2 separate regions of the Homo sapiens genome follow, and region 1 is linked to region 2. Evidence: promoter capture Hi-C in human tissues and cell types (Jung and others, 2019). All regions are on one chromosome and are shown on one strand. Each heading gives the region's core, a stretch centred on a gene start or on the middle of the fragment in contact. The rest is flanking DNA. Distances are from core to core; before and after follow the strand shown.

What was found. The method cuts DNA at HindIII sites, captures the fragments that hold promoters and counts their contacts. A contact is called where the count stands out against the background at its distance.
Region 1: a contact is called between the fragment with the promoter of DNMT3L here and the fragment with the promoter of AGPAT3 in region 2, in 4 of the 25 tissues and cell types used here (adrenal gland, dorsolateral prefrontal cortex, heart right ventricle and 1 more).

The regions. Positions count from the first base shown.
Region 1 is chr21:44,260,492-44,263,191 of GRCh38, reverse strand. DNMT3L (DNA methyltransferase 3 like) reads left to right here and starts at 1,295. Exons shown (of 12, transcript NM_175867.3): 1 at 1,295-1,452; 2 at 1,926-2,038; 3 at 2,353-2,397. The coding sequence starts at 1,933. RefSeq lists an enhancer at 1,021-1,580. The HindIII fragment of the contact is 12,940 bases long and covers 1-2,700 here.
Region 2 is chr21:43,863,828-43,866,587 of GRCh38, reverse strand. It overlaps AGPAT3 (1-acylglycerol-3-phosphate O-acyltransferase 3), which reads right to left and starts at 1,365. Exons shown (of 10, transcript NM_020132.5): 1 at 1,243-1,365. RefSeq lists silencers at 607-926, 1,047-1,396, 1,947-2,306. The HindIII fragment of the contact is 11,781 bases long and covers 1-2,760 here.

The DNA.
Region 1 (2,700 bases), core at 46-2,545, 400 kb before region 2:
TCCCTCCAACAAAGTCCCCCTTCCCAACCCACCCCGCACCTCCCACACTGCCCCTCTGCCCACCCCACCTTCCTGCTCCCTTCCCTGCTTCCACGTTCCACCCCCACCCTGAACCTACCCCTCCCAGCTCCCCAACCCCCCACCTGCCCTGACATTCCCCACCCAACACCCCTTACCCCATCCTCCAGGGCCTTCCCTGTTTCCTTCTCTCCCCCACAGCTGCCCCCCAAACCTGGGGCTCCAGACTGAGCTCCCAAGCCCGGCTCCTGAACGCCCCTCCCTCTATCCCGCCAGAGGACCACCTCCCCTGAACACCCCCATCTCCTCCTCACCATCTACCCCCACCCCCACTCCCATCCCAACCGACCCTGAGATCCCTGAGGCCCATCCCCACCCCATTCTCACCCCTATCCTGCCCTAAAGGCCACCTCCCCTGAAACCCCCATCCTCGGCCTCACACCCCCATTCCTACTTTCACCCCGTCTCTACCCTTGCCCTGAGCCCCGACCCCCGCCACTGAGCCCTGCCCCGGAGTGCCCACCCTCACCCTATCATCACCCCCATCCCGCCAAAGGACCACCTCCCCTGAAGGCCCCCATCTCCAACTCAGCATCCACCCCCACCCCCACTCCCTAATCCCCCAACAGATCTCCCTAAGCCCCGCCCTCCACCCACCCACCCTGCCCTGAGGGCCACCTCCACTAATCCTCACCCATCTCCACCCAGGGGGCCAACTCCACCTAACCCCCCGCCCTGCCCTACCTCCACCCTCCACCCTCCACCCTCCACCCCTCCACCCCTCCACCCTCCACCCTCATCCCTTTCTTCACCCTTGCCCTGAAGCCCACCCCTATGACCTTCCTAAACCCCACCTCTGAGCGCCCTGCCCCTACCCCACAGCCACCCCTATCCCCCACCCCACCCCAAGGGCCCCCCTCTACTGAAACCCCCCTCATCTGCCCCATCCCCAGTCCTCCCATCTCCACCCCTCCCCTGAACCCCACTCCCCACTGAGGTCCCCAAACCCCACCCCTCACTCCACCCTGAGGGCCCCATCCTCTGAACCCCAATCCCCCAGCCCCACTGAGCTCTTAACCCTCCCCACCTGAGGGTTCCCTTTCCCTGCCCGTCCCCCAGCTTCCTAGCTCCCCACCCCAAGTGACCCCCCGCAGCTCCTCGCCCCTCCCACTGCAAACCGGCACTGAAGGGCTGCCCCGCCCCCGCCCCTCCCCGCCCCCGCGGGACACGCCCAGATTCTTTGCCCCCATAGCCTGGTGACCTCTGGCCACCCGCTGTCCCAGGTGGGCCTGGATCCTTCCAGCTCATTCTTTGCCTGCGCCGTCCCTCGTTCCATGGCCCAGTCCTCCCCGGGGACCCTGAGCCTGGAAGCCCCGGACCACTGGAACCTTGAACCCACCAGCTGGCTGTACCCGGAGCCGTGGCAGCAGCCCTGTGAGTCTCTTTCCTACTCCCTGACCATGCTGCCTTCAAGGGTGCGGCTGGCCAAGACCATCCCCAGGGGTCCCTGCTGGGCCTGAGGGACACTGTAGGAGGCTGGGGCATGGGAGTCCCTGAGGGGTCGAAGGCTGGGCCCAGAGGAAAGCAGGGGCTGCAGCGGCCATTGGCCCCAGGTCCTCATGAGGGCCCTGCCCTCCCCTTTTTGCCCCATCTTCCATGTTGTAACAGGGCCAGGCAGGTGGGGGGCACGCCTCAGGGGACCCTTGAGCCCCTCTCAGGGCTGGCACTGGCCTTGGCTGTCCTGCCCCTCATCCCTGGGTTGGGCAGGTGGGTGTCACCGCGGGGGTTCAGGTGGCCTGAACTAGTCAAGGTCTGCTCAGCAAGCTGCTTCCCGTGCTGGGGTGCATCAGGGATCTGAGCAGGGGCTGACGGCTTTCTCACATCTGTGTCCGTGTGTCCTGACACAGCATCCCCATGGCGGCCATCCCAGCCCTGGACCCAGAGGCCGAGCCCAGCATGGACGTGATTTTGGTGGGATCCAGTGAGCTCTCAAGCTCCGTTTCACCCGGGACAGGCAGAGGTGAGGGCTCATCTGCTTATTGGACCAGTCACTTAGGATGCTGATCCCAGGCCTGGATGAGGTCTGGAGTTCCAGGCTTCTGGAGTATTCATGCATTATTCAGGCACCCGGGCTGGGGCAGGAGGTTCCCCACCCACAGTCTTCCCCCAGGTATGGGCGTTTAACACACCAAGATAAGGTGTGAGGGCGGGATGGCAGGGGACCTCAGGCTCCTGTGACTTTGGAAAACGAATTGTGATGCTCACTTCCTGGCCGAATTTAAATTAAGAGATCAGAGGAAGAAGAAAGGGGCTACTTCTTATCTTCCTTTCCAGATCTTATTGCATATGAAGTCAAGGCTAACCAGCGAAATATAGAAGGTGAGTGTTTGCATACTGGCCCACACCAGACAAAAGAGACGGGGCACAGTGGCTCACACCTATAATCCCAGCACTTTGGGAGACCAATGTGGGAGGATCATTTGAGCCCAGGAGTTTGAGACCAGCCTAGGCAACATAGTGAGACTCTGTCTCTACAAAAAAATAAAAATAAAAATTAACCAGGCATGGTGGCATGCACCTGTAGTCCCAGCTACTCAGGAGGCTGAGTTGGGAGGATTGCTTGAGCTGGGGAGGTCGAGGCTGCAGTGAGCTATGATAACACCACTGCACTCCAGCCTGGGT
Region 2 (2,760 bases), core at 116-2,615:
AGAGGGAGGGGGGGCGGCAAAGAAGTGGCCAAATCAAGAGAGTGCTCAGCATCCTCGGGAGACCCCTCTGAAGCTTTCAAACTGAGAAGACGAAGTTCAGCAATTCCTAAGCGAGTCGAGTCGGAGCAGCCGCGCCTGCAATTTAAAAGCTGCAGGATCCTGGGTCCCTCTAGCAGCCTGGGCCCGCCGCCCGCCCCACCTCCCAGCCCCCAGCAGGCTCTCGGCGTTGGCTTTCATTTTTAATAAGAGCCGCATGCTCATCACCCTCTGTCTGGAGGCCAACAGCCCACATCTTTCTTCTACTAAGATCATGTTTCCCAGGAAAAAGAACCCAACTGCTCAAGTATTCTCCTAGACAAAGCTTTTAAAATTGTGCTTTTTTTTTTTTAAAGGTCTGGGAAGCCATTTATAAAAGCATTTTCCCCATGTCACTAAACTTCTCTCAAAGTTAAAAAAAAAAAAAAAAACACTGCACCATTTTTAACTGCCTTCAAATACTAATAACCCTCCTTTCCTAAGTACTTGGGACCAATGTTCCAAGGGTCCTGGGGTGGCCAGGAGTGGGTTTTCGCCCCCACGGCTCTTGCCCCCGGACTGACCCCATCCCCTGACCCGCCCGGTGCAAACGCGCCGCCGGTCTCCGGGCCGAACCCACAGCCAACCCCGGGCCCCGCAGCCCTCCCCGCGCGGAGCGGCAAAAGTGAAACTGCTCCCTTGGCCTGGGCGCGCGAGGAGGAGGCCCCTGGGGGGGGTCCCGGGTCCGCCGCGCCCCGAAACCAGGCGGCGGGCGCGTCCTGTCCACGGGGGAGCCGAGCGGGGCCCGGAGCAGAGTCCAGGACGGAGGGATGGGACGTCCCCGCGGGAACCCACTCGCCCTCCCTCGGCCCGGCCCGGGCCCCTCCCGGGCGCCCCGAACCCCCGGGCCTCCCCGCTGGGCCCAGCGCCACCGAGGCTGCTGCGGGAAGCGGCCGGGGCCTCGCGCTGGACCAGGCCGCCGGGGAGGCCGGGGTTGCGGGGGGCGCACAGGACCCGGGCCCAGACCTCCTCCCGGCCCCGCGCCTTCCCAGGCCCCGCGCCCCGCGGAGCGCGGCCGGCCCATTGCGGCGCGGGGCCCCGGGCGGCCCGAGGTCGGACGGCTGGGGCAGGGGCGACCTCCGGCGGCGGGAGGGCGACCTCGGGCGGCGGCGGGGCGTGGGGGAAGAGGGGGGCGGCCCGACCTCGGGTGGGGGCCTCGGTGCTCACCTGCAGCCGCCGCCACCTGCTCGTCGCGCGGGCGTCCCCGGCGTCGCCTCCGCGGCCCCGCTCTGGCCGCCGCGCTCCTCGGCCCTGGGCCCGGCCCGGCCCTGCGTCGGGGCCTCAGCGAGTGCGGCGCCCGCCGCCCCCGGCCCCCATCCCGCCGCCCTCCGCCCTCCGCCCTCGGCCGCGCCGCCGCCGCCACTTCCTGTGCGCGGCGATCCCACAGTTCCGCCGGCGCGCGCGGGGCGGCCGAGGGACACGCTGGGGGGACACGGGGGAAGGACGCGGGGGGGGACGCGGGGGGACGGCGCGGGGGGGGACGCGGAGGGGACACGGGGGCGACACGGCGGGACACGCGCGCGGAGAGAGGTGTGGGCCGAGGGCGCCGGCGGGGCCGGGCGCGGAGCCTGCGTGGGATCCGCTAACGGACGGGGCTGGGGCCCGGGCTGGGGGAGGGGGCGGGCCGGGACCGCGGGGGGCGCGGGGATCAGGGGGGTCGGGGCTGAACGGGGGGAGGCGGCGAAGGACCAGGCTGGGGTCCCGCGAGGGCTCCCCCGGACCGGGTCGGGGGCAGAGGGGGCCGGGGCGCGGGGTGGGGCCGGGAGGGGCCTCCGAGCTCTGCCTGGGCCCCGCCATCTCCCCTGCCGGGGTCTCCTGCGGGCGCCGGGGAAGTTTCGCGCGCGAGCTCCTGCCCTGGTCGGCCGGGGCTTAGGGTCGCCGTCAGGGGTCGCCGCGCGGCGGGCTCGGTGGGGACGGCCCTGCGCGCAGCGGCTCCGCGGAAGGATCGCGTTTCGGCCCACGTGCCGCGCCCTTGGACTTATTCATAGTTGGCACCCGGCTGGCAACACTGTATCGACACTTGACCGTGGCGGGGGTGGGGGTCGCCCCGGGGCTGCCCTGCGAACCCCCGCGGGCGCTGACGCCGTCCCCTCCAGACCGCGGAGCCCTCTCAGCCCCAGGACAGCGGCTGCCGTCCCCCCTCCCTTGCACCTGGCCAGCGGCCGATCCCAGAACCTGCGGAGGCCGCGCAGGTGCCGCTGTCAGGGCAGGGCCCGCTGCGGGCTCCGCCTCCTGCGCCCGGTACCTTGTGTGACCTGGCGCCTGCTCAGGTCCTCAGGCCCCGGCTGGACTTGCTGAGCTTGGGTGGGCTTCATTTGAAAACCATTTAAAATACCAAGTACTGGTACTGTCTACTGTGCCCCTTTTTTTCCTTTTTTTTTTTTTTATTTTTATTATTATTGAGACAGGGTCTTGCTCTGTCGCCCACCCTGGAGTGCAGTGGTACAATCATAGCTCGCTGAAGCCTTGAACTCCAGGGCTCAAGTGATCCTCCCACCTCAGCCTCCCAAGTAGCTGGGACCACAGGCACACACCACCATGTCTGGCTAATTTAAAAAAAATTTTTTTTGTAGAAATGGGGCCTCACGGTGTTGCCCAGGCTGATCTCGAACTCCTGAGCTCAAGTATTCTCCCACCTCCTCCTCTCAAAGTGCTGGGATTACAAGTATGAGCCCCCGCACCCAG